Linked DNA regions of Homo sapiens: regions 2 and 3 are each linked to region 1. The links are contacts of gene promoters, found by promoter capture Hi-C in blood cells and fetal thymus (Javierre and others, 2016). All regions are on one chromosome and are shown on one strand. The core of a region is centred on a gene start or on the middle of the fragment in contact, and the rest is flanking DNA. Distances in the headings are between cores, read along the strand shown.

What was found. The method cuts DNA at HindIII sites, captures the fragments that hold promoters and counts their contacts. A CHiCAGO score of 5 or more calls a contact.
Region 2: a contact is called between a fragment that was not itself captured here and the fragment with the promoter of WDR12 in region 1, in 2 of 17 cell types (naive B cells and total B cells). The highest score is 8.9, in naive B cells.
Region 3: a contact is called between a fragment that was not itself captured here and the fragment with the promoter of WDR12 in region 1, in 3 of 17 cell types (megakaryocytes, fetal thymus and erythroblasts). The highest score is 11.5, in megakaryocytes.

What each region holds. Positions count from the first base shown.
Region 1 is chr2:202,909,409-202,913,780 of GRCh38, reverse strand. WDR12 (WD repeat domain 12) reads left to right here and starts at 2,108. Exons shown (of 13, transcript NM_018256.4): 1 at 2,108-2,345. The coding sequence starts at 2,305. CARF (calcium responsive transcription factor) reads right to left here and starts at 1,506. Exons shown (of 17, transcript NM_024744.17): 1 at 679-1,506. RefSeq lists enhancers at 1,226-1,275, 1,376-1,575, 1,616-1,765, 1,776-1,925. The HindIII fragment of the contact is 1,677 bases long and covers 1,192-2,868 here.
Region 2 is chr2:202,234,698-202,239,069 of GRCh38, reverse strand. SUMO1 (small ubiquitin like modifier 1) reads left to right here and starts at 473. Exons shown (of 5, transcript NM_003352.8): 1 at 473-630. The coding sequence starts at 619. RefSeq lists a silencer at 819-1,008. The HindIII fragment of the contact is 685 bases long and covers 2,183-2,867 here.
Region 3 is chr2:203,451,536-203,455,907 of GRCh38, reverse strand. RAPH1 (Ras association (RalGDS/AF-6) and pleckstrin homology domains 1) reads left to right here. Exons shown (of 14, transcript NM_213589.3): 9 at 328-471; 10 at 1,368-1,478. Among named protein-coding and RNA genes, the nearest start is that of RAPH1, 82 kb to the left of the region's middle. The HindIII fragment of the contact is 306 bases long and covers 1,704-2,009 here.

The sequences.
Region 1 (4,372 bases), core at 859-3,358:
AACCTGCTGGTCAATTATACATTTTATAAATATATTTTAACCAATGACATATTACCAGTAAGTACAGATTCAACGGCAAGATTTCATTAAGAAAGTGTTTCAAGCTTCAGATGCCCAAGACTTATTTAATGTGTAAATCCTCACCACTACAATAACCACATGGTTAAACGATCACCACTTCCATTAGCAAGCTCAAGCCTAATAAGTGATCTCCTGGGACTTCAGCACAGAGGTTTTCTAATTTTATTCCTCCACTCAATGTGGCTATTCTCCCTTATCTATTCACGCTGGCAAAGCTTCTAGTTAAACTGGAATTAGTAACTATTTGATGATAATAATTAACATATACTGAGTGCTTCCGATGCCGCAGTTAATTCTTATAGTTGATAAAAGTGTGGCACAAAAAGGTTAATCAAGTAGCAGAGGCAGGATTTGAACCCAGGAATTCTGGTTCCAGGGCCCGGATTCGGAGCTACAAAGGTGAGTAAACTGAAAAGAGTCCTACTTTTATTGTCATTGCTCTCTAATAAAAATTATTTTTTCTTCCAATTGTTTAAATCTCTTCTCATTCTCTATTTAAATATTAGGCGTTCATTTAAACATTAGGCGTCTACCTTACAGTAGGACATCTTTAAACAACGTAAAAAAGGAAAGCTTTGTCTTCACCTGCACACATACCGGTCTGCCCATAAATTTTGCAATCCAGTTCTGCCTGATTCTAAACTGCTTGTCTCTTGAAGCGAATGCCTTAAAAAGTGACATTGGGATCAGGATAGTTATCTCCATCCATCCTCCCTCAGAAAAACAACTATATTAGAGTAATTCTTGGGACCATTGAGAACAATACACAGGCCTTTGGGTAACTTCAAGACAAAAAAGGCAAAAAGTCGGGGAGAAGGTGTGGGAGGATGATTTTCCCCTTCTAAACGTAAGGTATAAAAGGGCTCAGAAAGCGGAAAAAGAACCCTAAAAAGCAAGGTGCGGGACGGCGTGAGGGACCACACATTGGGCGCTCCGCCCAAGGGGTCCGGCTCCTTCTCCGCGGCGATGGCGCGTCCTTGGGCTCAGCAACCCTCCTGAAGACACCTAACCTCCTCCTTCTCCAGCCTGCCCCTCTGGGGCCTGCGAGCCCCGTCCCGGGCCGGGGGTCGGAAGCCGTGCCATGTGGGACCCCGAAAAGGCCCCCAAGCTTGGCGCGGAAGGCGCCGCCAGTGACCGGCTGCGGCTGGGGGCGGAGGCCGGCAGTTGCTCGGAGCTCCGGCGGGTCAGGAGGTGACGGGAGGAGGAGGAGGCAGGAGGAAGACGGGGGGTTGGGAGGTAGCGTCCGGTAGGTCTGCGCAGACAGCGCTGCCAGACCTCTGACTCCCCCAGTCCTGCCGCCGCCGATAGCCCCACAAGGCGACATGGGAAGTCCGCCGGAGCAGAGGGGAGAAAATTCAAAACGAGTCTACTCAACCTCGTCTTGGCTCCGAGGCCCCGCCATGGAGACCAGCATAATGCGCAGGCGCGCCCCACCGGGAGCGCGCAGAGCAGTCCCACGACAGTAGGACCACTATCGGCCACCGTCGACCGTTTCCTCTCTCATCCGTTCTTTTCTTTGTATTTCCGCCTCTCGCCTCTCTCTAAAAGCCGCAGTTAGAGGCGAGATTTAGGAAAAACCTCTGCCGAGTGAGCCTCTGGTTGGGAATATGTATGAGAAAAAAAAACTGGCAAGGCGTTAGTCAAGCAAAGCTGAAGGCAGAGGAAATTTGATATCTGGCTGGAGTCTAGAGGATTTAATGCAAATAAGATACTCTGAGGGCAGCGTGGCAAAAAAAGACTACAATTCCCGGTGGTCACAGCGTTTGAGAAGCGATGCTTTCTGAGACTTGTAGTAACTAGGAGCTGTGTTTGAACTATCCAGGCTCAGGACAGCCTCTTGAAAAAAAATTTTTTATTAATAAAGCGGATTTGAGTGGGATCTTTTTCCTAATCGATTACGGGCCCACACGTATGGGAAGAATTCTAACAATGATTAAAGGGACATGCTACCTTTACGACTATCCTTTTCTAATCGATGACTCCTAAATCTAGGAGTAGGTAGTCGATGTTTGTGGTCTGGGCGTCTGTAGAAGGGCAACCTCGTGCTTTCTGCAGAGGAGACCGGAGGGCAGAAGGCAGAGTCCAGGCTTAGACTGCAGTTCCTCGCTTACCTGTGCAGTCTAATTTTGAGCTGCCTCTTTGTAGTCTTAAAAGGCAGGAGCTTCGTGTTGTGGGTCTGCTAACCCGTACGTTTCCGTGGGCAAGTCGTGTGTACTCCTCGCCATGGCTCAGCTCCAAACACGCTTCTACACTGATAACAAGAAGTAAGTAAGCGTTCCAGCCTTCTCTCCCTTCCCCAGGTTCCTTTCCGACCACCCCTTTGGTATGACCTTGTGGATCCCTGGTTGTTTCTGCTGTCACCCCCACCCTTTTTTCTGAGATTACCTGCTTTCTAACCAGCTTCGTAGGTTCTATATAATTTGAATTGTGAGTGTGGAGGAGGCTGAAGGGCTTCAGGTTTGCTTTCTGAATGAAACATTTTATATGTGTAATTTAAAAATGAACAGTGGGCCTTGTTATAGGGTGTCTGCTAGTGGTGGTTCACAGTTTTTGAAAACGGAAAAAAAGTTTTTGAAAATGAAAAAACATATTTACCATTTATGTATATCTATATAGATATATAAACATTTTAACCAGTGGTCTCAAGGTCTGTTAGCACTCATTCGAAAACTAATTATATGCTGCCTTGTGGTATATATTGCATTGTTAGCTTTCTTTGTGTTTGCCTGGTCTCTTCCAACTATATTGGAAGTCTCTTGAGGGCAGGGACTATATATTAATTAAGCTTCTTGGATTGGCTGAGTCAACAAAAAATGTCAAATTTTTCAGTGAAAATGATAATATTTGTCGTGTTAATAAGCTAAAGTTAGCCATAAACTAGGAAACTCCCACCTGAGTTACATCTGTGGTTTTGTTTGTAGCTTTATGAGGAGAGCTAGTAAATCATCTTCTCTCCCCTTGTGTTGTTGCTGAAAGTATACATAAATCGTATTATCAATGCACCTGAGTATATGTACTTACTTACATACATTGCCTTAATACTTCTCTAGGAATGTGGTGATGCATTAACATAACCACTGTGTTTTTTAATTGAAAGTAGGTTTTTTTGTTTTTCTTAAAATAAAATTTTTTGAAATATGTGGGGCTTTTTTTTGTTTGTTTGGTTTGGTTTTTTTGGAGACAGAGTCTCACTCTGTTGCCCAGGCTGGACTGCAGTGGTGGGATCTTGGCTCACTGTAACCTCTGTCTCCCGGGTTCAAACAATCTTCCCGCCTCAGCCTCCAGAGTAGCTGGAATTACAGGCATGTGCCACCAAGCCTGGCTAATTTTTGTATTTTTAGTAGAGACAGGAATTTGTCTTGGTGGCCATGCTGGTCTCGAACTCCTGGCCTCAAGTGATCCGCCCACCTCGGTCTCCCAAAGTCCTGGAATTACAGGCATGACCCACTGCGTCCAGCCTTGAGATAATTGTTGATTCACATGAAGTTGTAAGAGATAATAGGCCACTGTGTTTTAACCCCTGAAATGAATGGATACATGTCATATGTGTGTGTGTGAATTTAGGCCCTCCAAAAGGTAAAAAAATGTAGAAATTAAAATTCTTTGCCGAGTGCTGTGGCTCATGTCTGTAATCCCAACAGTCTGGGAGGCTGAGGAACGCAAATCGCTTATCTCAGGAGTTTGAGACCAGCCTGAGCAACATGATGAAACCCCGTCTCTACCAAAAATACAAAAAATTTGCCAGGCATGGTGGTGCCCACCTGTGGTCCCAGCTACTTGGGAGGCTGAGGTGGGAGGATCTCTTGAGCCTGAGAGGCAGAGGTTGCAGTGAGCCAGGATCAATGCAACTGCACTCCAGCCTGGGGAACATAGTGAGACTCTATCTCAAATAAATAAATAAATAAATAAATAAATAATAAAATTCTTGCTTTTTCTTTTTGCTTAATATTATGGTCAGTAAAATGGAGGCGGGGGGCTAATATAATTGTCACACACACACACAAGAATATACATATATGTGAATTATATACATAAATATATAGCTATAGCCTTATTGCTCAAAGTGTGGTTTGAGGATCATCAGCATCATATTTGCAAAGTTGTGCAACCATCACCACAGTCAATTTTAGAACATTTTTCATCATCCTTGAGCTGTTTGTTAAATAATACCCCCAGCCCTAGGCAACCACTGATCTACTTTCTAGCTCTGTAACTTTCTCTCTTCTGGACGTTTTGAATAAATGGAATTATATAATGTGATCTTTTGTGACTGGCTTCTTTCACTTACTAT
Region 2 (4,372 bases), core at 1,276-3,775, 680 kb after region 1:
ATCAGTAGCCGTCAAGATTGTGTTGGGTCGTTGCTTTCTTGTTGTTTTAAATCACGGTCATGTGTTTGGCAAGGGTGCTGGTTAACCGAAAATGTTGGTTCTAGAGCTAGAAGTACTGGCATTCAAATAAACATATTTGGGGGTTGGGGGTTGATGAGCAAGGCTGGGAGGAGACAAAAGAAGTATCTCGGCTCAGTCGTCAGAGACGCGCAAGGTGTAACGGAGAGAGCAATCTAGGTTGTGAGAGTGGCTCCAAACATTGAGACATGGAGCCAGGACCTTTGCTCCTGGGGGATGGCCCTAGTACTGATGCGCAGGACCTGGTCCTTGAAGGAGCTGACAAAACTGCCGTTCACCCGCGCGACCACCGGCAAAGCAGCTCCACAGCCTGCCCCTCCCCTTGGCTGCTCCCCCACCCATTTCCCGCCTTGTCTTTCCTCTCTTCTCTCTCTCCCTCCTCCCTGCGCGAAGCGGAAGTGACGCGAGGCGTAGCGGAAGTTACTGCAGCCGCGGTGTTGTGCTGTGGGGAAGGGAGAAGGATTTGTAAACCCCGGAGCGAGGTTCTGCTTACCCGAGGCCGCTGCTGTGCGGAGACCCCCGGGTGAAGCCACCGTCATCATGTCTGACCAGGTACCGGGCTGGGAGCCATCCAACGGCGGTGGCCAGGGCCTTCCCTGCAGGTCTGCCTGCCGCTAGGCTGGGGTCGGGGATGGAGGCGCGGGGGAGGGGAGCGCGGAATGGGGGAGGGGGCGGCCGGTGGGGACTAGGCAGGCGAGGGAGAGGAGCCGACTACGGCCGGAGGTGCCGGGGCCTGCTGCGGGGCTCCCGGAGCCGCCCGCCCCTCTCCGGGCTCGCTCATCACCCCCGTACCCCACCGCCTTTGGTGGCGGCCTCCCTCATGTCGTCCCACTTCTTTCTCCCGGGTCGACTAGGTGCAGAGCCCCGCTTCCACCTCCCTGGGAGGGTCTCTGGAGAACCCGTCCGTCTCCTTCCAGAGGACTAATCGCAGAAGCAGGGCCCTAGGCCTTAGTTATGTAACGGGAGAGAATCCCTGACTGGGAGGCTCCGTGGCCCTGAGAAGCGGCTGGACTCTCCACTTTTTGCTTCTTCGTCGGGAGGGCGTGGGGCGGCGAGGGAGGGAGACGTCCGATGTTGTTGGGAATCCTGCCTCCGTTCGGATTGGAGCTAGGGCAAGGATGCCGCTGCTCTCCTCTGAGTCTTTTTCCGTGTGGGGGTGCAGAGCTGTCGCCTCTTTACTGTACTTTCCCGTTTCTTACTCGGGATTGGTTCATCCTAGCTCTCCAGTTGTAAGAGAGCATTCATAATAACCAAGAAAGAAAATAGAACTAAACTGCTAGAGCAACAAAAAGCATCTCACCTGGGCATTAACCTGAGGAAGTCTCATATTTTTGAGGAAAAGCATAGGAAAACTTTGTGTATGTAGAGTCGTTGCAGAATATTTGCAGAAAGTTGCCTGGTAAGGCAAAGTGCTCCAGCTCACTGTTAGTATCAATAATTTACTTGGGATTTGCACTTAATCAGGAGTGATCGATTTCCCCTTTTCTTCCTCATCCTGTTCTAATTAAACAACTTTATGGCTAGTTTTTAATTCATAAAGTTTTTGTCTGGTCTTTTGTTTGCTCAGACGACTTTGACTTTTTTTTTTTTTTGAGACGGAGTCTCGCTGTGTCGCCAGGCTGGAGTGCAGTGGTGCGATCTCCACTCACTGCACCCTCCCGCCTCCTGGGTTCAAGCAATTTTCGGGCCTCAGCCTCCCGAGTAGCTGGGATTACAGGCACTCACCACCAGGCACTCACCACCACACCTAGCTAATTTTTGTATTTTTAGTAGAGACGGGGTTTCACCATATTGGCCAGGCTGGTCTCGATCTCCTTACCTCGTGATCCGCCCACCTCGGCCTCCCAAAGTGCTGGGATTACGGGCGTGAGCCACCGCGCCCAGCCGACTTTGACTTTTTACATTATTTTTGGACTTTTACTCATTTAATGGTAGTTATTCAGAAAACTATTTTTCATTCAACTCCACGATGTACTTGAACTTTTAAATTTAACACACCTATTCCCTTGGCTTTTAACCCAGTTTTGTACCATTTCGTGAGAGCAAGTGAGGTTTTTGCAGATTGGTACTATTGTACAAAATGTACACTTAACATTTTAAAGCTTAACCATAATCTAGATGAATTTTGGATGGATCTACTTACTAATAATCTAGATTAATTCCCAAGTGGGCATTGTGTTTCCCTAGGTAGTTGTTTACTTGGTTACTAGGAAGAAAAGTATAGGCGTAAATGCTTAGTTTCGTCAGCCTTTTATTTTGTTTCCCAGAAGCGTCTAGGAAGCATTTTGAAATTTATTGTAGACTGATGGAAGAGCAACATAAAGAAATAATTATAAAATGTAGAATTTATTGCTCCATTTTGAAGTCAGGTTATTTAAGAGATACATAAAGAAATGAAGGACCTAGGATACAAATAGATTCTTTTATTTCATGTTCATACTAGGACATTATTTGTCTTTTTCACTGTCATTCTTTCATGAGTGTTCAATGGACGTTTCTAGAAACTAACATGACTTGTGATAAAACAAATTAAATGTGGAAGCAGATGTGAAAATCCAGCTGTTTAGCTGTTTTTATTAAGCCAGACATTAAAGAGATTTGCAAAAATGTGTAACAGTCCCACTCTTTCATTAATTTTGTTTTGAAAAATATTTTTAATAAAAATATATATTTGTTAACATATAACAGGTTTGTTGGTATTTTAAAATGAATTAATATTTAAGACATTTCTCAGTTTTCAGTGTTTAATACTGTAAACATCAATAGATGTAACCAACCTAACAAAAGCTTTATGGGATTCTAAATAAATTTAAGTGTAAGATTCCTGAGAACAAAAAGTTTGAGAACTGTTGCTGTAGGCTGATTGACCAACATCATTAGGACTCGCCGGGTGCAGTGGCTTAAGCCTGTAATCCCAGCACTTTGGGAGGTCAAGTTGGGTGGATCACGAGGTCAGGAGTTCTAGACCAGCCTGACTAACATGGTGAAACCCCGTCTCTACTAAAAATACAAAAAATAGCCAGGCGTGGTGGTGCGCACCTGTAATCCCAGCTACTCAGAAGGCTGAGGCAGGAGAACTGCTTAAACCCGGGAGGCGGAGGTTGCAGTAACTGGAGATCACTCCACTGCACTCCAGCCTGGGCGACAGAGTGAGACTCCGTTTAAAAAAAAAAAAAAGACTCAGTACATTGGCCGGGTGCAGCGCCTCACACCTGTAATCCTGGCACTTTGGGAGGCCTAAGTGGGGGAGGATTGCTTGAGCCCAGTTTGAGACCAGCCTGGGCAATATAGAGAGACGTCGTCTCTACAAAAAATAAAATTAGCCAGGCATGATGGCCTGTACCTGTAGTCCCAGCTACTCAGGAGGTTGATATGGGAGGATCACCTGAGCCTGCGAGGTCGAGGTTGCAGCAAGCCAAGATCATGCCACTGTACTTCAGCCTGGGCGATAGAGACCCTGACTCAAAACAAAGAAGACCCAGTACAAGTTCAGTGTTGAGTGCTAAAGACTTAAAAGAGTTATAAAGCTGAACCCTTAATCTTAAGAGGTTTATAAGTGAGAACAAGAATCTCCAAATCCTGTACTGTTTAATATCAGCATGAGACTAAACCACTGTCCTAAGAAGACAACCTTAATTTGAATCAAGTTATTTTAGAGTGATGTGTTTTCTGAGGCAGCTCTCAGAAGGTTATTGTCTGGTGTTAAAATAGTGAAATTGAGTAATAACAAGGTTAAAATCGGTGGACATTAAATACACACAAGACTTCAATTGCTGGGTCCTCCATTGATTAATGAAAAAATGATTGTTTTTGGAATTTGAGTGAAACACTTCTTAATGGCTGAGTAGGGTGGCTTACGCCTGTAATCCCACCACTTTGGGATCACTTGAGGCCAGGACTTTGAGACCAGCTTGGCCAACATGAGGAAAGCACGTCTTTACTAAAAATACAAAAATTAGCTGGGCCTGGTGGCTCATGCCTGTAATCCCAGCTACTTGGGAGTCTGAGGCGAGAGGATCGCTTGAGCTTGGGAGGTGGAGGTTGCAGTGAGCGGAGATCATGCCACTGCATTCCAGCCTGGGCGACAGAGCAAGACTCTGTCCCAAAAAAAAAAAAAAAAAAAAAAGAAAAGGAAAAAAAACAAAAAACTTTTTTTTTTTTTTTTTTTTGAGACGGAGTCACAAAAAATTAGCCACCATGCCCAGCTAATTTTTTTGTATTTTTGGTAGAGACAGGGTTTCACCATATTGGCCAGGCTGTCTCGAACTCCTGACCTTGTGATCCGCCCGCCTCG
Region 3 (4,372 bases), core at 607-3,106, 540 kb before region 1:
CTGCCCACATAACTGGGACTACAGGCTCGCGCCACCATGCCTGGCTTTTTTTTTTTTTTTTAAGTAGAGACGTGGTTTCACTATGTTGGCCAGGCTGGTCTTGAACTCCTGACCTCAAGTGATCCACCCGCTTCCCAAAGTGCTGGGATTACAGGCATGAGCCACTACACCTGGCTGGAAAGTTCTAATTGAGGTTAAATTAGCAGCTTGGTTTTAATATAAAACCATTTTGGTTTAATAACTGTCATGCATTTCACAGGAGTAAACACAACTTTGTTCTGAGAATCCAACGATCATAAGTCTTTGCAAATAATCTTGTTATTTTAGGAATGTTTTTGTGGAAGTTCTGTAACTGTACCAGAAATTGAAGGAGTCCTTTGGTTGAAGGATGATGGCAAGAAGTCCTGGAAAAAGCGTTATTTTCTCTTGCGAGCATCTGGTATCTACTATGTTCCCAAAGGAAAAGCAAAGGTGTGTCCCTTCTGTTGGAATTTGAACTTCCTCATTATGCTAATTGCTTTTAATTTGTATTGAGTATGCTGACAAGGTGAACCCAGGCTATGATTTGTTTCAGTTCGTGGAAGACATAGAATATTGCTTTGTTTATTAATCTATTATAAAGAAGAAGAAACCTGAAAGTTCTTACTTCTCTGGTCACTAGTTGAGCCTATCTCAGTTCTCTTTACCAAATTTGAAATCATAGTTTTATTTGTTGTTTTTTGGGGACTCTTTCTGGAGTAGTTTTGTTTATTTTTGTTTGGGAAGAACAGCACAGCTCTCTGGGATTACAGGCTTTTTTATCTTGTTTGGGTAATATGCTTCTTCTGCTAAGGGCCACCCTGGTGTAGCTATCACTTCGGTGCTTATTGGCACCAGGACTGTTTTAAACTTTTTTACAGTATTATCTCATCTAGTCTTCACAATAGTCCTATGAGCATATATTGTTGCCCCTATTTAACTGGTGAAAACCTCCCCCCAACCAGTTGCGAATCACTATACTTTACATATGCATTATAGGCACTGAACGACTTGATATTTTCTTGTTCTTTCCAGAGAGCTCTATTATACATTATTGTTTTTAATGTACTAGACTATATTAATAGTATCTTTAAAATGCCAACACTCCTTAACAAGTTAGTGTTCATTGTGAATGACAAAACAGTAAGTAAAATGGGCTGCTTTTTTGTTACGTTAATGATTAAAGAAGAAACATTTATGGAGCATCTCATTGTCTCGTGTAAATAGCAATAATTTCTATTTAGTATTAGCAAAAGTAGTTTTGATTCTCACCTAGAAAATGTTAACCAGGTATATTTGCTTGTTTGTGCATTATTATTAATTTTATCTTTTTGGTGTTTTTATCTTAGGTCTCTCGGGATCTGGTGTGCTTTCTCCAGCTGGATCATGTCAACGTTTATTATGGCCAGGACTATCGGAACAAATACAAAGCACCTACAGACTATTGTCTGGTGCTGAAGGTAAACACATATTTCTTTTTAGGAATTTTAATTGATGTTAGACATAGAGCAGGTTATTGGATATTTTAGAACTGTTGAGATTCCATCAATTATACTGTTTTTGCTTTATTCTCAAAGTTTAAAAAGGAATGGTGAAGTGTGGTAAGGAAAAGAAGCATGTGCTATATCATAGCAGACCCTGGGCCAATTATCTCTAGGTAAGGAGTGAATATTAGATTGTAAGCTTTGAGTTGTGAGATATAAAATGTATTTGATTATAAATTTGAGATTCTCATTTAACACCAGGCTTATTTTAGGAAAACTTAGAACAGAGCCGAATGTAGGTCATAAATGTGCTTTAGTTCTTTTCCTGTACTTACTCAGCAAACCATCAGAGGGCACTGTGTCCAAGTTCAAATCAGACTGGCTGTTATCTGGTCCAGAAATAATTTTTGTCTCTTTTTTTCCCTGAACTATAGTCATGATAGCCCATGTATGTATTGTGACCTGAGCTGTTTTTAGGGAGGTTTTTTTTTCTTCTTTATTCAAGCTTTTGTACTTCTTGCAATGATTATATCTGTACTTCTGAGAAGAACGGACATTTTAAGCAAATTTATAGTGATCTATTAGAACACTGATAAAAACGACATACAAAAATTCAAGAAAATTAGGGAGATAATTTTTTTTTCATTGGCTCCATCTTTGTAATTTCTTGGTAACTACTTAGGTCTACATGTTCATATCATGTTTAATTTCACTTTTCTCTGAGAATTGTCACTTTAGTTTGGGGACTGCCATTAGTTTGGGAGTTTTAGGATTTTAGGATTTTGGAGTTTTGATTGCTTTGATAAAGTCAGTACATTGTAGTAGCAACCTTTTTTTTTTTTTTTTTTTTTTTTTTTTTTGAGGCAGGGTCTTGCTCTGTCACCCAGGCTGGAGTGCAGTGGCACAATCACAGCTCACTGTAGCCTCGACTTCTCAGGCTCCAGCGATATTCCCAGCTCAGTCTCCCAAGTAGCTGGGACTTGAGGTGCATGCCACCACACCCAGCTAATTTTTGTGTTTTTTTGTAGAGACAGGGTTTAGCCATATTGCCTAGGCTAGTCACAGATTCCTGGCCTCAAGCAATCTGCCTGCCTAGGCTTCCCAGAGTGCTAGGATTACAGGCAGAGCCACTGCTCCTGGCCATAATGGTAACCTTTTATTACATAATTGTGTTTTTGGGGAACACCACTGTATCATTTTAGGTACCTTTAGGTGCAAATAGTTTTTTAAAAGTCAGTACAAAGTAGCTTAATTCAGCAGTTTTCAAAATGAGGTCCACAGTCTCCTGAGAGTCAGTCCCTAAGACCATGATGTCAAAATTATTTAATAATGCTAAGATGTTATTTGCCTCTTGAACTTTCATTCTCTCACATATGTATAGTGGAGTTTTCTAAGAGGTTATATGACATGTGATGGTATCTTCACGCTAGTGTAATGTGTGTTTGTCTATTTATTTATTTATTTATTTTTGAGACAGTCTCACTCTGTCTCCCTGGCTGATGTGATCTCGGCTCACTGCAACCTCTGCCTCCCGGGTTCAAGTAGTTCTCATGCCTTAGCTTCCCGAGTAGCTGGGACTACAGCCACATGCCACCACACCCAGTTAATTTTTGTATTTTTAGGACAGATGAGGTTTTGCCATGTTGGTCAGACTGGCCTCAAGTGATCCGCCTGCCTCAGTCTGCTGAAGTGCTGGGATTATAGGCGTGAGCTACTGTGCCTGGCCTGGCCTGTGTATTCTTGTAGTTTAATTTTTTTCTTAGTTTTAATTTATAATGTAAGTATTGCTGGGGTGGAAAAACTTCACTTCATACTCTTAGGGTCCTAGCTGGGCACACAAATTAAATTGACATAAGAGATCAACAGGAGAAAAGCATAATTACTTGTATACTGGATTGGACAAAGAATAATTTGTGAAGAAGCAACTAAATTATATGTGAAGCCTTAAAGATACGAGTTATTTTAACAAGGTCTGTACAGAATTCTGTTGGTTTCAACTTCTCATCCCTGAGGAGAAAGATATTTTCGCTTTCTAGTATTGAGAAAGCATCTTTTGCATGGTAATTTCATCTTCTAAGGCTTTTAAGAAATAGCATGAAGGTCAGAGTGATCTTCTGTACCTGCTGTTTTTCAAGTGTCTTTTAACTTAGTCAATATGCCAGGGTGGTACATTTTTAACTCCTTCAATATCAGTAGACATAATCCACGTAAAAGAAAGTTATTGGGGGACTCTCATAACATGAAAACAGTAAAAGTTGGTTGGTTATTTCAGTGGCTCAAGGTTGTCAGTGAGAACTCAAATTCTTTCCATCTTTCCTTGTTCTACTTCCCGCATATCAGCTTATTCTCAGGCTGATTCACCTCACAGTCCCAAGATGGCTGCTGCAGTTCTATGCATCACATGTAGACCCAGAAAAATCCAGCCAGCAGAAGAGGGATTATTGCTCCCTGTATTTGTCTTTTATAAGAGGAAGGAACTATTTCACAGAAGTTACTCAACCACCCTCCTTTTGAGAGTTACTGGCCCAGAGTACATTTTCTGCTGACAAGCCAATCACTGACAAGGGAATAAAACTACTATGGTTGGCTTACACCAGTCAGAATTCACACCCTGTGGGATATAGGTGAGAGGTAAGGCTCTGCCAGGAAAGAAGTGGGGAGGAGGAGATAGCCATAGGGGCCTGCACTCAACCTGTCAGGGTCATTTTAAAAATGAAATGTTGACCTTTCTTTCTTAATAGGTATTCATCTGTTTTGGGAGCAATTTCATTATATGTTCTCTGGACTCTCTTAAGAATCTAAATGTGGAGCTTCTGGTTTTTAGCAATGAATGTTTCCTCCAGCCTTCCTCTTAACCCTGGTATAATTTT